5 separate regions of the Homo sapiens genome follow, and all the other regions are linked to region 4. The links are contacts of gene promoters, found by promoter capture Hi-C in blood cells and fetal thymus (Javierre and others, 2016). All regions are on one chromosome and are shown on one strand. Each heading gives the region's core, a stretch centred on a gene start or on the middle of the fragment in contact. The rest is flanking DNA. Distances are from core to core; before and after follow the strand shown.

Region 1 (3,567 bases), core at 84-2,583, 340 kb before region 4:
CTAAAAATACAAAAAAAATTAGCCGGGCCTGGTGGCGTGCACCTGTAATCCCAGCTACTCGGGCTGAGGCAGGAGAATCGCTTGAACCCGGGAGACGGAGGTTGCAGTGAGCAGAGATTGAGCCACTGCACTCCAGCCTGGGTGACAGAGGGAGACTCCGTCTCAAAAAAAAGGTGACTCAGCAGTCTGGGCAACATCTGACTAAACTTTCGCAGTGGGCAGTGAGTGAGGAAATAAACCTACTAAAGATATGTCGAATAAATTGGGGAAAATATTTGAAACATATGACAAAGAATTAACATTATTTTTTTTTTCTTTTTGAGACAGGGTCTCACTACGTCACCCAGGCTGGAATGCAGTGGCACAATCATGCCTCACTGAAGCCTCGAACTCCCTGGGCTCAAGTGGTCCTTACACCTCAGCCTCCCGAGTAGCTGGGACCGCAGGTGCATGCTAGCATACCAGGTTAATTTTTGTATTTTTTGCAGAGACGGTTTCACCATGTTGCCCAGGCTGGTCTCGAAATCCTGGGCTCAAAGAATCCAACTGCCTCGGCCTCCTAAAGCATTAGGATTACAGGCGTGAGCCGCTTCACCCAGCCTGAGTTAACATTCTTTATGATAAAAAGACCTTACAAATAAAAATAAAAAGACGGATACCCAATGGAAAAATGGGCAATGGATACAAATAGGTAATTCACAAAGATAAATAATGGCTAGTAAACCTTACTGATAACCAAATACAAACTGAAATCAGAGTACATTTTTTTATCTCTCAGACTAGCAAAGATTTTTTAAAGAACATAACCTTTCACACAGCAACTACATATGTAGACATTATCCAAAGAAAATAACTGGACAGATAAAGAAAAATGTACTAAGATGCTCAGCACAATATTATTAATGAAGAACTAGAACAAAAATCGTAAGAGTCCAACAATGGAGAACTAATTAAATAAATTACAATATACATACACACTGAACAAATGCAATGAAAACTAGATAGATATATATTCAACATAAGATATTTACTACATAGGCTTTTTGAAAAGTAGGCTAAAAATACTTGTATAAGATCTCATTGGCTGGGTACAGTGGCTCACGCCTGTAATCTCAATGCTTTGGGAGGCCAAGGTGGGCGGATGGCTTGAGCCCAGGAATTCAAGACCAGTGTGAGCAACATGGTGAAACCCTCTGTCTTTACAAAAATTCAAAAATTACACCAAAATCTCAGAAATCACCACTAAAGAACTTAGCCATGTAACCAAACACTGCCTGTTCCCCAAAAACTACAGAAGAAAAAAATTAAACAAAATAAAACCAAAAAATATAAAAATTAGCTGGGCACATGCCATTAGTGGCGGCATGTGTCTGTAGTCCCAGCTACTCAAGGGGCCAATGTGGGAAGAGAAATTGAGCCGGGAGGTTGAGGCAGTACTGAGCCGTGACTGCACCACTGCACTCCAGCATGGGTGGCAGAGCAAGACCCTGTCTCAAAAAGAAAAAGAAAAAAAAATAGGTCTTGCTTTTTGTTAAGATACACCTGTGTGTGTATGCATGCATACATATATATATAATACCTACACACACTACACACTACACACATAGAGAGGCAGACACACATTTTTCTGTGTCTGTCTCTCAAGAGATTGGAAGGATATATACTAAAATATCAACCCAGGTGGAATTTATAACTAATTTTTCTTTTAGCTTAATTTTACTTTTAGCTTTATTTTTATTTAAGGAACATGCATTATTTGTGCAATCTTTTTAAGTTAAAATAAAGACTGTACAGCAACTTGGGGAAATGCTTGGGATGAGAATCATAGTATAAAATATCTAAACTATTATTTCAACCAGAGTTAACTCTTGATTAGTCAGAATAAGAAGAGTGATGGTCAGAGGAATACTTAAAATCATGGTCAACGCAAGTAATTCTCACGGTGTTGTCCTGGGCCAGGAGATTCAGCCTCATCTGATAACTGATTGGAAATCTGATTCTCTGTCCTACCCCAGACCTGCTGAATGAGAAACCAGAGATGGGGCCCAGCACATGTCCTAACAAGTCCTCTATGTGATTCTGATGCTCACTAAGGTTTCAGAAACCGTACTTGATTCTTGATTACCTAGGAAAGGTGCAACAAGGACCAGGAACACCTTATTAACTTCATAATTAGGAATTGGCTCATTAGCTCTGATTACTCTCCTTTCCAACTAGAGTGGGAAGGAGCAGCTTGAAGGGGGCAATGTCAAGTGAGTGGACTTGAAGACCCCGACTTACCTGCAACCAGGTTAATTCACCATCTCCTAAAACAACCAGATATTAAAAGTAAAAAAAAAAGAAAAAGAAAAAGAAAAAGTGAAATACACTAAAATGATAATATTGTAGTTACTATGTTAAAGTTTTTCTTTTTTCTCTCACTGAATAATATAGTAATAGCACCTTTTCTTTTTTTTGAGACAGAGTTTTGCTCTTGTCACCCAGGCTGGAGTGCAGTGGCGCGATCTGAGCTCACTGCAACCTCTGCCTCCCGGGTTCAAGAGATTCTCCTGCCTCAGACTCCCAACGTAGCTGGGATTACATGTGCCTGCTGCCATGCCCAGCTAATTTTTTTGTATTTTTAGTTGAGATGGGGTTTCACCATGTTAGCCAGACTGGTCTTGAACTCCTAACCTCAGGTGATCCACCTGCTTCGGCCTCCCAAAGTGCTGGGATTACAGGCGTGAGCCACCCTGCCCGGCCAGTAGTAGCACTTTTAAAATGTTTTAAAAGAGAAAACATTTTAACACCAGACAGAAAACTAATTAGATTTATTTAAACAACCTAGGTGCTTCAGCTAAGCTGTCTAAGATCACCATAGTAGATCTTGGAAGTAGGCCAAATTTCTAAGCAGGCTTTGTAAATTGGGTTCAATACCTCAGTAGTCATCGTAATGAACAACAAAAAAAATGTAGGCCATGTGATTTGTCCACAGCAACCAAAAATCCCAAAACACATCCTACTAGACTCACATGGCCTGATCTTGAAGACAGCTCGTTCCTATCTGCTGAGAGAATCCCCAGCACCAACACCCTCAAACACCTTCCCTACAGTAGCAGTTTCTTAAATACTATTTGCAAACTTGCCCGGTTAATCTTGACCTGTACAAGTAATAAACAAAAACCTAGATTATCAAAAAACTTTTTTAAACTACTTTCAGTAGGGATTTCCTGGGAGGGCTTGATATTTCAAACAAAATGAGGTTCAAGTGATTTACAAGCTTTCCCACTCCTGCCGTGACTCTTCCCCTCATCTACAAAATACACTGAGAATAAATTCACTTTGTGACTCAGACGAAGCAGCCAGTGGTATAAGGGTAGGCAGAGAACAAGGATCAGGAAGGACAGTGTGTGCTGCAACTGGGTACTTGTGGGTAAATCGTCCACACTGTCTGCTTCCAATCTACTTAAGCAAGTGGTTGTAAAAGTCAGATGACTGCATAAAGCACGAGTTCTCTCTAAAAGGAGTAGACTCAGAAGAGAAAGCAGTTGGCCTCCGAGTCCTGCGTGAGGGAGGTAATCATCTCTC
Region 2 (3,776 bases), core at 204-2,703, 310 kb before region 4:
CAGTTATGCTCTTGACTGCGCAGTCTATCATACACTTTGCCTTCTCCACCCATTTCTTAAGAGTCCTCTTTGGTCACTACTTCCTGCCTTACCTCCCTAACCTTCTGAAACTTGGCTTCAACCCACATCACTCTACTAAATAGTCACAATGATCAAATCACCCACTTTGATGACCTTTTCCTTATTCTTCAAGCTCCTCAACCTCTCTGTAGCCTCCGACTCTCAACCACCCCATTCTTAAAACTCTTGTTTTGGCTTCCTAACTCTGTACTCTAGCTTTCTTCCTAACCTTGTTACAGACCCTTCACCTCCTATTCTGACTACCCACTTTCTAAAACGGCACAGTGCTGCAAGGTGCAGACCTACATCTGAACTTTTTCTAAATTTTCTTCCCTGAACATGGTCTCATGCATACCCATACTTTACTGTCACTGCTATAAAAATGGACCCAAATCTCTCTTTCCTTCAACAGCTCCTGCTGAAAGAATGACTGACTGCTACTATAAACTCGACAAGTCCAAAATCAAACTTCATATCTTCCTCAAATCAAAGTCTTCTTCCTACTTCATTTCATGTTATCAAAGCTCTAGGTTACCAATGTACGGGCTATGATAATGCATTTTTAATAGTATACCAAACATACAAAATATTTAGAGATAAACTTAACAAAATGTGCAATGCATGCACACTGAAACTATAAAAACACTGCTGACAGAAATGAAAGGCAACCTAAATAAACAGAGAGTTATATACTACGCTCATGGATTGGAAGGCTCAATAGCTCAATATTGTTAAGATGTCAGGTCTCTCCAAATTGGTCTATAGATCCAATACCTTCCCAATAAAAATCCCAGCAAACTGTGTTTGTAGAATTTGAAAGAATGATTCTAATTTTTTTTTCTTAGAAACAGGGTCTCCCTCTGTCACCCAGGCTGGGGTGCAGTGTCCTGATCATAACTCACTGCAGCCTCGAACTCCTAGGCTCAAACAGCTAGAACTACAGGTGAGCACCACCACATCTGGCCAATTTTTTTGTAGAGACAGGGTCTCAGTATGGCGCCCAAGCTGGTCTTGAACTCCTGGCCTCAAGGGATCCTCCCACTTTGGTCTTTTAAACTGCTGGGATTACATGCATGCATAACCACAGACAGCTGATTCTAAAATTTGGGTGGAAATGCAAAGTTCCTAGAATAGCCAAAAAAATTCTGGGCAGGGGAAAGAAAAAGGTTTAGCATTTACCTGACTCAAGGCTGTGTATAAAGCTACAGTAAATAGGACAGCATCAAACTGGCATCAAGATAGATATCCAGAGCAATGGAAAATAACAGAATCCAGGAATAGACTTTGACTTATACAAATGATCTGACAATGGTGTGAAGGCATTTCAATGAGGAAAGAACAATGGGACCAGAACAATTGGAGATCCATATGAAAACGCAAATCCCTATTCCTAGACACCACTACATATAAAAACTAACTCAAAATCACATATCTAAACGTAAGGGTTAAAACTGTAGCCCTTCTAGAGTCAGATGAAGTCCCAGCTACTCAGGAGGCTGGGGAGGAAGGATCACTTGAGCTCAGGAGTTTGAGGCTATAAAGCACTATGATCACATCTGTGAATAGCCACTGCACTCCAGCCTGGGAAACCCCATCTTCCTGTCTCTTTAAAAACAAAAACAAAAAGAAAACAATTTTTAAAAATGAGCTTCAAATCATTGACAGGTAAAATTTTTAAAAATTAAATAAAAATTAAAAAAAAAAAAAACAAAAACTACAGAACTTCCAGACTAAAACATAGCAAAAATCTTAGTGACCTCAGATTAAACAAAGATAAACTGTTAAAAAAAAATTACAGAAGAAACATGGCTAAATTTGACTTTACCAAATTTTAAAAACTGTTCTTGAAAAGTCATAAAAAAATAAAAAGGCAAGCCACAGACTGGGAGAAAATATGTGCAAAACATCCAACAAAAAACGCCTCATTCCCAGCCTGTAATCCCAGCACTTTGGGAGGCCAAGGTGGATGGATCACTTGAGGTCAGGAGTTTGAGACCAGCCTGGCCAACATGGCAAAACCCCGTCTCTACAAAAACACAAAAATTAGCTGGGTGCAGTGGCGTGCGCCTGTAGTCCCAGCTACTAGGGAGGATGAGGCAGGGGAATCACTTGAATCCGGGAGACAGAGGTTGCAGTGAGCTGAGATCATACCACTGCACTCAACCCTGGGCAACAGAACGAGACTCCGTCTTAAAAAAAAAAAAAAAAAAAGACTTGTATACAGATTATATTAAGAACTCTTACAGCTCAATAAGACAACCCGATAAAAAAGAGCAAAAAAACTGGAGAGTTCACCAAACAAGATAAATGTACAGTAAATAAGCACATGAAAAGATGTGCATCATTAGTAATTAAGATGCAAATTGAAATCACAATGAAATACCACTACACACCTACTAGTATGGCTAAAATTAAAAAGTTATGGCAAAGATCTGGAGAACTAGGCCAAGCGCAGTGGTTCACACCTATAATCCCAAAAGTTTGGAAGGCTGAGGCGGGAGAACAGCTTGAAGCTAGGAGTTTGAGAACAGCTGGGCAACAGAGTGAGACCCCCGTCTCCACAAAAAAATTTTAAAAATTAGCCAAGTGTGGTGGTGTGCACCTGCAGTCCTAGCCACTTGAGAGGCTGAGATGGAAGGACTGCTTGAGCCCAGGAGTTCGAGGCTGCAGTGAGCTATGATCATACCACTGCACCCCAGCCTGGGTAACAAAAAACAAACAAACAAAAAAAAAATTGGAGAACTAGAAGCTAGAAGCCTGATACATTGCTAATGGAAATGCAAAATGGCATAACCATTCTGGAAAACAGTTTGATGGTTTCTTATAAAGCTAAACATATACTTGCCTTATGGCCAACAATTCCACTCCCAGTTATTTCCTCAAAATAAACACAAAGAATTCTATTTAAATGTTCAATGAAGCTTTATTCATAACAACTGGAAACAACCGGAATGTCCAGCTGGTAAACAGACACAACTGTCACACATCCATATAATGGAAGAGCACTCAGCAATAAAACAGAAGGGACTGATACCAGACACATGAGGTACAGATGTATCTCAAAAGCAATATGCTACGTGAAAGGAGCCAGGCAAAAAAGACTACATACTGTATGACCCCATATGAAAGTGTAGTTTCATAGTAGGCAAACCAGGATCACTTGAGGTCAGGAGTTCGAGACCAGCCTGGCCAACATGGTGAAACCCTGTCTGTACTAAAAATACAAAAATTAGCCGGACCAGGGTGGCACACACTTGTAATCCCAGCTACTTGGGAGGCTGAGGCAGGAGAATCGCTTGAACCCAGGAGGCAGAGGATGCAGTGAGCTGAGATCAAGCCACTGCACTCCAGCCTGGGCGACAGAGCCAGACTCCATCTCAACAACAACAACAACAACAACAAACCATACTAGGCAAACTATAGCAAGAGAAAGCAAATCAGTGATTGCCAGAAGCCAGGGGAATGGGACTGACTGCAAAGGAGGTCAAGGGAACTTTTTACGGTGATAGAAATCTTCTAGCATGATTGTGCTGGTGGTTATATGACTGTATATATTTGTCAACTGACAGTTTAAATTGGTACATTTTATTGTTTGTCAATTACACCTCAATAAATCTAACAACAAACTCCTTCCTCTGGGATGTACCGTGACATCTTTCTATTCCTTGCTGATCACACCAACATTTCCTTGAGGCCTTAGCATCATTCCTGTTGCC
Region 3 (3,700 bases), core at 71-2,570, 280 kb after region 4:
TGGCCTCCAGGGGGTGTTCGGAAATGCTGAGGAGGGAGGATTAACTGTCTTGGGAGCACCGGGCACGGTGGCTCACGCCTGTAATCCCAGCACTTTGGGAGGCCGAGGCGGGCGGATCACGAGGTCAGGAGATCGAGACCATCCTGGCTAACACGGTGAAACCCCGTCTCTACTAAAAATACAAAAAAAAATTAGCCGGGCGCGGTGGTGGGCGCCTGTAGTCCCAGCTACTTGGGAGGCTGAGGCAGGAGAATGGCATGAACCCGGGAGGCGGAGCTTGTAGTGAGCCTAGACCACGCCACTGCACTCCAGCCTGGGCGACAGAGCGAGACTCTGTCCAAAAAAAAAAAAAAACTGCCTTGGGAGCACTAACGGCATTTAGCACATGGGGATTGGGGATGTTAACCATCTGGCAGAGTCTGGGACAGTGCATCGAAGAACTGTTTTTCCACCCGTATTGCCACTGGTACCTCTCATGAACTTGTTATGGACATGGGAGAGACCCGGGGAGGGACTGGACAGGTTTCTTCCATGAAGTAGGAAGTAGTTCCTAAGTCCCCTGTGTACTTCTTTCCAGGTAGAGAGAGGAATGTGGGCTCTAAATTACCCTTGTGCATGGCACATATCTAGCAGCTTTTGTCTGCTAGCATACCTCTGGAGGTAAAATAGGTAGGCTCCCAGCCAGACTGTAAGGAAGATTTTCATGTTCTCTTTTCACCACCCACCCACTCTTTCTTTCAAGGCACATTTTTAAGAAAGTGGCTGAAGCTTGCAATACTTAGTCTTTAGTTCTAAGTGACTCAGGAAAGAGTCTTCAAGAAAACAGTTGGACAGAGTGCCCCAAAGCCTAAGCAGCGTGAGGCAAAGATAGGCAGGTGCATGTGGCGTCTTAGAGAGGGGCCAGCACATCGTCTCTTCTCTGGGGTCTTTTCATCCTACACTTGTCTTTTTGAAGACAGAGGTGTGGTGAATGAATGTCATTACTTACATCTGGGGGAGTGACCAGAGACAGTAGAAGACACCTTGCCCTAGTGTATCCTTTCAGGGTGGACCAGTGGCTGGGAAGCAGCACAGCTGAGCGGGATGAGCTGGAGCTGTGCAGAGCTGCCTTCCACAGCTCGCTGTTTCCCAGTCCCAGTCAAGAGAGCAGAACTTGGTAGGCTCCTGGCCTTGGGTAGCTAAGGTTTGGAGGAGGTGGAGAGAGTCCGCCTAACCTTAACAAGGTCATTCCTCACAGTGGAAACTACCTGAGCCCCACGTGTCGAAGCAGGGTAGGGGGAACAGGCAGGATGTGGATCAGAAGTTGGTTTGGGCTGGGCGCAGTGGCTCATGCCTGTAATCCCAGCACTTTGGGAGGCTGAGGCAGGCAGATTACTTGAGGTCAGGAGTTCGAGACCAGCCTGGCCAACATAGTGAAACCCTGTCTCTACTAAAAATACAAAAAATTAGCCAGGCATGGTGGGAGGCACCTGTAATCCCAGCTACTGGGGAGGGTGAGGCAGGAGAATCGCTTGAACTCAGGAGGCGGAGGTTGCAGTGAGCCTAGATTGCGTCACTGCACTCCAGCCTGGGCGACAGAACGAGACTCCGTCACAAAAAAAAAAGAAAGAAAAAGAAAAAGAAAAAAAAGGAAGTTGGTTGGTTCTAGTAAGTCCTTTTTCTGTCTGTCTTCTGTTTGGAACAAAGATTGCTGTGATAAAGTCATTTATATTATGATGCAGATTCATTTCAGAAGGGGGTGTTTGGGGTTGGAATAAGAACCGTAATGAACACTTACTGTGCAGTAGGTTCTTTCCTTCTGTAATCTCATTGTCCCTCACAAGAACCCTTTGAGGTGGACAATATTATCCTCATTTGCAAGATGAAGAAACCAAAGCTTACAGAAATTAACTTGGAAGTTAAGTAACTTGCCTGAGGTTGGACAGCCAGTAAGCAGCAGAGCCCACATTCAGACTCAAGTCTGACTCCAAAACCTGGGCTGCCATGCTGTTGGAGGGAGACCTGCTCCCACGTGGCGGTGGGTATTTGGGGGTGGGCACTGAGGGGAGGACAGGAGGGCAGTGTGTAGCTGGCACTCTAGACTACATGCAACTGGTATTGTTTTCTGCCTGTTTTTTGGTTTCTTTTTGCTTTTTTTGAGATGAACTCTTGCTCTGTTGCCCAGGCTGAAGTACAGTGGTGCGATCTAGGCTCACTGCAACCTCCACCTCCCAGGTTCAAGATCCTCCTGTCTCAGCCTCCCGAGTAGCTGGGATTACAGGTGCGCACCACCACACCTGGCTAATTTTTGTATTTTTAGTAGAGACAGGGTTTCACCATGTTGGTCAGGCTGGTCTCGAACTCCTGACCTCAGGTGATCCACCCACCTCGGCCTCCCAAAGTGCTGGGATTACAAATGTGAGCCACCGTGCCCGGCCTGCCTGTTTTAATTGTAAATGTGTGATATTTCTGTGACTTATGGTAAACAGGCTTTGTGGGCTTACTGAGGACTAAAACATTATCCATAACGTTTCTTGGTAAAGTTTTTGGAGACTTTTGGAATATGGCCTGTTTCATGGGCTGGAGACAGTCTGTATGAGAGATAGTTACTGCCCTCCAGGAGCACTTGGCCTCTAGATCTGTGTCTTAATAGAGGACACCTTTTATTCGTATACCTGGGTCTTTTTGAGGTGGGGAGAGTGAGTGACCTCAGCCTGAGCTGAACAGGTGGTGGGTTGGCACTGGGGAGCACATGTTGGGAATACAGAGCTCCACGGGGCTCGTACCCAGAACTAATAGAGATTTCTAAATGTAGGGCCGCTGGGTAGATCACTGTGATGATGAAGAGGACATGCAGAAGACTTCAGAATATTTGGTCTGCAGGAAAGATAGTCGAATAATTCAAAAGAAAGCCTCTTCAGAGGGAGGAGAGGAAGGCTGTCTCATTTCCCCCCACCCTTTAAAAATGTGTTGTTGTTGTTTTTTAATGTGATTAAGTATATGTAAGACTTACCATTATAACCATTTTTCAGCGTACACTTCTGTGGCATTAAGTGCATTCACATTGTTGTGCAACTGTAACCACTATCCATCTCCAGAACTTCTTCATCCTCCCCAAATGAAGCTCTGTACCCATTAAACACTGACTCTCTGAACCCTCCACCTTCCAGCCCCTGGCACCCACCATTCTGCATCTCATTGTCTTTTGTGTGTGCAGAGTTGAGCAGAGGGTCTGACCGAGCAGATGTTTAATATTTGTTGAGTCCGCCTAGGTGCATGTCTCAGAAGTCCATGTATCATCAGCCAACCCAGAACACAACCCCCCTCCCAGCTCTAATGCAAGATGACAGGCTTCTGAAAGGGATTTTAAATGAAATGGCTGTCTGGAATCACAAGAGGATTGGGCAGCAGCAAGAGAAGTTAAGGGTTTCTGTTCCGTATTCAGTTCCTTTTGCCACCCCCCAGCCATGACTTGCGTTCTGGTTCTGCTATGCTCATGTTCGTCATCTTGCTTGTTTTCAGCCTCTTACTTCATCTCATCCTGGGGGTCTGATGGGTAGGTGCTAGAGGAAGTTGGAAATAAGGTCGTTTAGGGGATGAAGATCATAGAATGTAACAGCATTTCTGTATTAGTATGTGAGGGGTACATGTGTTAAAGGGCGGTCAACCCTCCTGGACCTCCAGGCCTCGACAGTTGAGAGCCAGGTCAGGCTCTGTATTC
Region 4 (3,925 bases), core at 1,394-3,893:
CTCCATTGCTGCTGTGTCTGCTCTGCTCCTGCCCCCATGCTTCAGATAACTCTGCCTTCTGCCAGACCCACCCCCATCCTGTTAGAACCCCTGGAAGGGGCAGCAGGCATGGGGGACACTGGAGACATGGGCGTGCTCTGTGTGGGCTGCCACCTGGAGCAGGGTCCCTTGGCCACAAGTGCTGGGATGCTCTGTTGGTTCTTGCTGACCCTGATGCTGGTGCTGGGCCTGGGTAGGGGGCCTTGCTGCCAGATGCCTGAGTAGGGTGTGAGTCATGGCCCTGGCCACATCAGGGGTCCCTGAAGCCACAAGCCCCAACACATCAGCCTCTGTGTCATCCAGGCTGCCACGGAGGATGAGGGGGCAGGCCCAGGCACTAGTGGTAGACTTGGCCACCAGGTTGCTGAGCAGAACCCCAGTGCTTGGGGACAGGTGTGCAGAGCCAAAGGAGCAGTTGAGCGAGGAGGTGAGAAGGAGCACAGAGCCGCTGCTGTCCACGGCGGCCAGGGCACTGCTCTCGGGGCTCACAGCAGTCTGCAGGAACGGTGGGCAGGGGTCAGGGATGGGCGCCCCGGAGCGCAGGGCTGCCTCCAACAGTGCCAGCAGTTCTGGGCCAGCTGAGGGACTGGGGGTGGTGAACAGGATGCCCTGGGGCACAGGTAGCTGCTCTGCTGGTTCCAAAGTGGGCCTGGGCACAGCCGAGGGCACCTCCACCCCCAGGTCTCCCGCCAGTAGACTCAGTAGAGCATCCCCAGCAAGGTCTGAGGTGGGAGCGAGGGCTGCGCTGCGAAGCACAGCTGCCAGTTGTGGGTTGGTGGCTCGGGCCCCAGCGCCCAGGGGTGTCCCATCAGCATGGCAAAGTAGTGGACAGAGGCCTTCTGTGCCCCGAGCCACCAGAGCCCTTGCCAGGGGTGTGTCCACCAGGAAGCCCTCCTGAGCCAGCGTGGTGGGGCCCACTAGCAGGCGTGGCCAGGGCAGGCGGCCGAAGCGTGCATGCAGCAGGTGCAGGGTGGGCAGAGCCGCGGGCAGCCCCAGGCCGGGGGCCAGGGTCTGTGCTGGGCCTGATGTCAGGGCCGTGGAATTGCCTGAGGAGCTATCGTGGAAGAGGCCCCAAAACATGGCACCTGCAGGAGACAGAGGGGTCCCTCAGCAGCCGCAGGTCAAGGGTCACTGACTTGTTTCAGTCAAGATCCCTTGACTGAGCCTGGGATCAGGAGTTACTGACCAGGCCTGAGGTCAAAGTTCCACAGACCCGGGCTCAAGGGTCATAGCCTGGGGTTGGACTGCTGCCCAAACCCTAAGTCCTGCTCACTTAGCAGTCTTGAGGTCAGTGCTACTGACTCCCTAAGTTCCAGGTCACTGATCAGGCTGTGGGTTGGGGTTGCAGTCTGGGGTCAGGGGTCACTGACCTAGCCCCGTGGCATGAGGATGCACCACTGCCAGGCACAATGCAGCTCCAACTCCAGCATCCACGACGTTGCCCCCGGCAACAAGCAGCTCTCGGCCTAGGTGGGAGCATGTGGCTGCAGCAAGGAAGGCACTGTCATGCAGCAAGGAGGGGGGCTAGGCTGGGCTGGTGACCCCTGACCCTCCCCTCCCCAAGCCGCCCCCAGCACTGACTGACCTGCAGGGCTGATGATGGCACCGTGGTGGTATACGCCAGGGCCGTGGGAGTGTCCGCCGGGTGGAGGGGCCACAGAGCCCAAGCTTCCTGTCGACCTGCCCTGATTCTGGAGCTGCCTCACAGCCAGGGAGCAGCCAACAGCCAGCAGCAGCAGGGCTGCCACTACACGGGCCCAGGTTCCGGGCAGCCCGCCAGCCTTGTTCCTGCAGAGGGGGGGTGTCCTGAGCCACGGCTGGGACAGAGGGATGCCCAAGGACCCCAAGAGACCCCAGGGAATATTTCCCAAAAGGTTTGATTTAGCAAGAGGAGCACAAGTCAGCCAAGGAGAAAGGGCTTCTTGGCAGCGGGTGCATCTTGGGCAGACATGGGGATGGGAAAGCATCTGGGGAAACTGAGCCTAGCTAGGGAGGGAGCCTCTGGAGGGGAGATTGGTGGGGCAGAGTCCACTCAGGTGGGAGGGAGGCCCAGTGGGGTGTGGCAGGCAGGAGAGAAGGGGCTGGGGAGCAGGCCCAGCCAGGCGTAGTCAGGCCCCAACCTGCCCAGCAGGTGCCTCCTGCACCAGGACTTGGGGGCTGGGGACCTTTGACAAAGCAGCAGATGGGACAGAGGCTGGCTTGGTACAAATGTCCCTCCAGATGCACAGACTTTTGATTGGGTCAGGCCAAGTCTCGGGCTACAGCCTGGGTTTTCCCCCAAATTGACCGTACAGTGCCTGGAGCTAAACCCAGCGGGGAGTCGCCTGGTCCCCCTGAGGGGCTCCAGAGAGAGGGACTTGCCAACCTCAAGCCTGGGGAGCCTGGTGCCCAGACCCCTCCCTTACTTACCTGGAAGAGTCCTGGTGCCTCCGGGGGTTTAGAACCAGCGCCTCTGATGTCTCCTCCTCCTCCACTTCCTCCTCCGACTCCAAGCTTGGCTCCCAGGGCAGCAGCTTCTGATAGACCACGGGCTCTTCTGCCCGCTCCATGGCCCCCCAGTGCTCGCCCCAGCCCTCCTGCCTGCCAGCCTTTCCGGCTGTGTCTCAGAGGCCCTGCCCAAGCCTGGCAGGTGGGAGGTGGCAGCGACCTTGGGGAAGGGTGGGGGTGGAATCCAGAACAGGTCTGGGCAGGGCACGGGGCCAAGGAGGCTGCATGTGAGCCTGCCCCATTAGGACACAAGGCCCGAGGAGCTCTCGCGACAGGGTTCCCGGGGTGACTGCCTGTAAGGGGCCACAGCTCAGTGAGGTCGAGAAGGAGTTCAGCCTTAATGCCACAACCTTGATACTCAGGGCACCTGCTGGGCTCCTCCCCTTGGGGGATGTAGCCCATGGATCCCACCCACCTGGGACTCTAGGGACTGTGGACTTGAATTAGAGCTACGGTTTCACGGTGGCTTGGGTCAGAGCTCCCACGTGCTTGAGTCTGCACGTGACTAGGTTCTGGCGTAGGGGTGTCTGGTCTCTGGCCGGGGTCAAGGCTCAGCCTGTGGCTACTCTGGGTCTGGGTTTCTTTGAGGAGCAACTTGGTTCGTAACTCCCTGTGCGTGTTTTGCGACTCTTGTCCAGAAGGTAGCGCCACAGCCTGGAAACCAACATTTCTAAATTCATTCTGGGATTCCCATCAAGGACTTGTTGCAAAACAGTGCTGTTTGTAACAGTCCCAAATTGGAAAGTGCCCAAACATCCATTATCGTTAGAATGAATGATGTAAGTCACAATGGACCACTCTGCAGCAAAGAGAGTGAGTGATCTACAATTATATGCAATAATATACACAGGTCTGACAAGCATAAGGACGAGGGAAAGCAGCCAGGCAGGAGACAGCGCACGCTATATGCTTTCATTTACACAAAGTACACAAACAGGCAACAACAAAAGAGCAACAACAGTCTGCCCTTAGAAGTCAGATAGTGACTGGAGGAGGTACCAGGGGGTTTCTGGAATGCTGGAGATGTCCTTTCTTTCCTTCCTTTCTTTCCTTTCCTTTTTCCTTTACCTTTCTTTTCTTTCTCTTCTTTCTTTCTTGACAGAGTTTTCATTCTTGTTGCCCAGGCTGGAGTGCAATGGTGCAATCTCAGCTCACTGCAACTTCCACCTCCTGGGTTCAAGCAATTCTTCTGCCTCAGCCTCCCGAGTAGCTGGGATTACAGGCACATGCCACCACGCCTGGCTAATTTTTTGTATTTTTAGTAGAGACAGGGTTTCACCATGTTGGCCAGCCTGGTCTTGAACTCTTGACCTCAGGTGATCCGCCCGCCTCAGCCTCCCAAAAGTACTAGGATTACGGGTGTGAGCCACCGCGCCCGGCCGAGATGTTGTTTCTTAAT
Region 5 (2,500 bases), core at 1-2,500, 340 kb after region 4:
TGTTTGGTTCCCACCCGCTCCAGCAGAGCCAGACCAGGGAAGAAGAGGGTTTCCTGGCTACAGCCTCCCTGTGTGCAAGTCCTGCAAAGGGGTCTCCTGTTTGGCTATGAAATGAATATAGATAGATAGCTCACAAGCTGGCAGCCACCAGAGTCCCGTGGGGCTGAGCCTTAGAAAGGCTGGGAGGTCAGCAAGGCTGAATGAAGGGCAGTCCTTGCTTTCTGGAAGACTGGCACCTGAGAGCCTATGTGAACCCTTTCCTCCTGCTGACCCCTGGACTGCGGCCAGGCCTACACACGCCAGGGAACGGGCACACACCATTCTTGTGAAGTTCACAAACTGCAGATTGATCAGCAGGGGGAAGGGATCATAATGCCGTGGTGGCGGCAGCCTACTTTTTCAAAATCAATTTCCTACTGGAGATGGGTGGGAAATTGAAGTCGGTGCGAGCTAAGGCTGGATACACGGCGCGTAGGGGAGATCAGGCACTCGGTTGAAGTAGGCCCCGAGGAAGATGAGGCTGGAGCCCACGCTGAAGAGCACCAGAGCGGCCCAGAAGCAGATGTTGTCAAGGGCATTCCCCATGCGCACCCAGTCGGACACTTCCTGGGGAAGGGTCGGCACAGTCAGTAAAGAGGCAGCTGCAGGAGCCAGCGGCATGGGAGACAGTGGTGGGCCTCTGCCTCGCTCCACCCGCCTCTGGCTCCTGTCCCACCTCGCCGGTGGCCTCCTGATCTCTCGTGCTCTCGGCCACGAAGTTCACGGCATCCACACAGCAGCGGACCTCGGGGGCGGCGGCGCCCAGGCTCTGGCAGAAGGCAGCTGGCGGGGAAAACACCGGGGTGGGCCTTAGGAGCCTCCCCCCTGGCAGGCACCCCGCGCGGCCCCCCGGGCCAGGGCCACTGTGCTCACCCGTCCAGGTCCCCTGCCGGTGCCTCTGCCCCTCAAACACGAGCTCGCTCCGTGGCTTTTTCAGTATCAGCTCCTCCGCGCGGAGCAATAAGCCCACCGACGACGCCCGCCTTGGGGGCGAGGCGGCCCGGGGGGCCTCGGGCGGCGGCGGGGAGCCCAGGAGGCGCGGCAGCAGCTCCAGGAGAACCTGGGGCAGGGGCGGGGCTTAGGGGACGAGGTTAGTACGAAGCCCCACCCCGACCCGGGCTGCACCGCCCCCTCCGCGCTTACGTGGCGCAGCCGCGGGGACATGGCGTGGGTGGTGGGCGTCCGCTGGGACACGTTGAGCACGATGACGCAATTCATGACAATGAGCGTGGCGACCACCATGACGAAAATAAGGAACCTGAGGAGCCCGGAAGGCATGACATCACCGTTCCTCCTCCCAGCTACCGAAGGCGCCGCGCGCTGACCTCACAAACACGGCTTCTCCTGGTACGGGCTGGTTACGCCCTCCAGCTGCGCCCCCTACACGACGACAGACGCGTCCCCCAGCCCTTCTCCTGTCCTACCACTTGTGGCGGCCATGAAGGGGACCCCCAGCTCCCTGGACACCCTGATGTGGATCTACCACTTCCACAGCTCCACCGAGGTGAGGCTACGCCCGCCAAGGGCTGCACCTCGAGACCTTCTGGGTAGGTCTCCTGTTCGCCCCTGTGACCCCTGCCCTGCTACTCTACTGCTCTGCTCCTTCTCCAGGTGGCCCTCCAGCCCCCGCTTCTGTCTTCCCTGGAACTCTCCGTGGCCGCAGCCCATGAATATCTGGAGCAGAGGTTCAGAGAGCTGAAGTCCCTGGAGCCACCCGAACCGAAGATGCAGGGGATGCTGCCTGCCCCGAAGCCCACCCTGGGGCTGGTGTTGAGAGAAGCCACAGCCAGCCTCGTGAGCTTCGGCACCACCTTGTTAGAGGTGGGGTACTGGGGGGCTTAGGATACGCGGCGATCGGGTAGCGGGAACAAGGACCTCTGCCTCCCCGCTAACCCCTGTGCCCCCAATGCAGATCTCAGCCCTGTGGCTGCAGCAGGAGGCGCGGCGACTAGACGGCAGCGCGGGCCCAGCCCCAGACGGCAGGGATCCGGGTGCAGCGCTGAGCCGGGTAGCCCAAGCCGCAGGGCAGGGGGTTCGGCAAGCTGGGGCTGCGGTGGGCGCCAGCGCCCGGCTCCTAGTCCAGGGAGCATGGCTATGCCTGTGTGGACGGGGTCTGCAGGGGTCTGCCTCATTCCTGCGACAGTCGCAACAGCAGCTAGGCCTCGGAATCCCCGGAGAACCGGTGAGCTCAGGACACGGGGTGAGTTAGGGGCCAGAGGCGGCGGGGCTAGGGAGGCACTGAGCCGGACTGTCCCCCAAGAGAGCTACTCGGGAGACCTCCAGGTGACGTCCAGCAGCAGTGAGGAGGACGGCGGACCAGGGACTCCATCCCCGTACCAGCCCCACCCAGCGTCCGAATAAAGCCCAGGGCGGGGCGAGACAGCCAGAGCTTTTCCCGGGGTCTCTGGGTTTTGGCCACGCCCCCACCCTTCACACTGGCCACACCCCCGCGGGGGCTCCG

Evidence for each region. Contacts are between HindIII fragments. The CHiCAGO score rates a contact against its expected background, and 5 or more counts as called.
Region 1: a fragment that was not itself captured here is called in contact with the fragment with the promoter of GGT6 in region 4 in 1 of 17 cell types (M2 macrophages); the score reaches 5.4 in M2 macrophages.
Region 2: a contact is called between a fragment that was not itself captured here and the fragment with the promoter of GGT6 in region 4, in 1 of 17 cell types (M2 macrophages). The highest score is 5.1, in M2 macrophages.
Region 3: a contact is called between a fragment that was not itself captured here and the fragment with the promoter of GGT6 in region 4, in 3 of 17 cell types (M2 macrophages, M1 macrophages and M0 macrophages). The highest score is 6.4, in M2 macrophages.
Region 5: a contact is called between the fragment with the promoter of C17orf107 here and the fragment with the promoter of GGT6 in region 4, in 4 of 17 cell types (neutrophils, M0 macrophages, erythroblasts and 1 more). The highest score is 13.6, in neutrophils.

The regions. Positions count from the first base shown.
Region 1 is chr17:4,217,383-4,220,949 of GRCh38, forward strand. All of the region lies in intron 3 of ANKFY1 (ankyrin repeat and FYVE domain containing 1), which reads right to left. Among named protein-coding and RNA genes, the nearest start is that of ANKFY1, 45 kb to the right of the region's middle. The HindIII fragment of the contact is 3,847 bases long and covers 1-3,257 here.
Region 2 is chr17:4,249,782-4,253,557 of GRCh38, forward strand. The region is part of intron 1 of ANKFY1 (ankyrin repeat and FYVE domain containing 1); the gene reads right to left. Among named protein-coding and RNA genes, the nearest start is that of ANKFY1, 12 kb to the right of the region's middle. The HindIII fragment of the contact is 3,051 bases long and covers 1-2,979 here.
Region 3 is chr17:4,841,884-4,845,583 of GRCh38, forward strand. All of the region lies in intron 1 of MINK1 (misshapen like kinase 1), which reads left to right. Among named protein-coding and RNA genes, the nearest start is that of MINK1, 10 kb to the left of the region's middle. The HindIII fragment of the contact is 1,108 bases long and covers 767-1,874 here.
Region 4 is chr17:4,557,934-4,561,858 of GRCh38, forward strand. It overlaps GGT6 (gamma-glutamyltransferase 6), which reads right to left and starts at 2,644. Exons shown (of 4, transcript NM_001288702.2): 1 at 2,449-2,644; 2 at 1,625-1,827; 3 at 1,410-1,523; 4 at 1-1,124. The coding sequence starts at 2,588. The coding sequence ends at 82. The HindIII fragment of the contact is 2,996 bases long and covers 2,531-3,925 here.
Region 5 is chr17:4,898,286-4,900,785 of GRCh38, forward strand. C17orf107 (chromosome 17 open reading frame 107) reads left to right here and starts at 1,251. Exons shown (of 3, transcript NM_001145536.2): 1 at 1,251-1,543; 2 at 1,651-1,860; 3 at 1,952-2,500. The coding sequence starts at 1,478. The coding sequence ends at 2,248. It overlaps CHRNE (cholinergic receptor nicotinic epsilon subunit), which reads right to left. Exons shown (of 12, transcript NM_000080.4): 9 at 1,183-1,297; 10 at 913-1,099; 11 at 716-822; 12 at 1-606. The coding sequence ends at 451. RefSeq lists silencers at 848-997, 1,018-1,127 and an enhancer at 1,328-1,637. The HindIII fragment of the contact is 47,734 bases long and covers 1-2,500 here.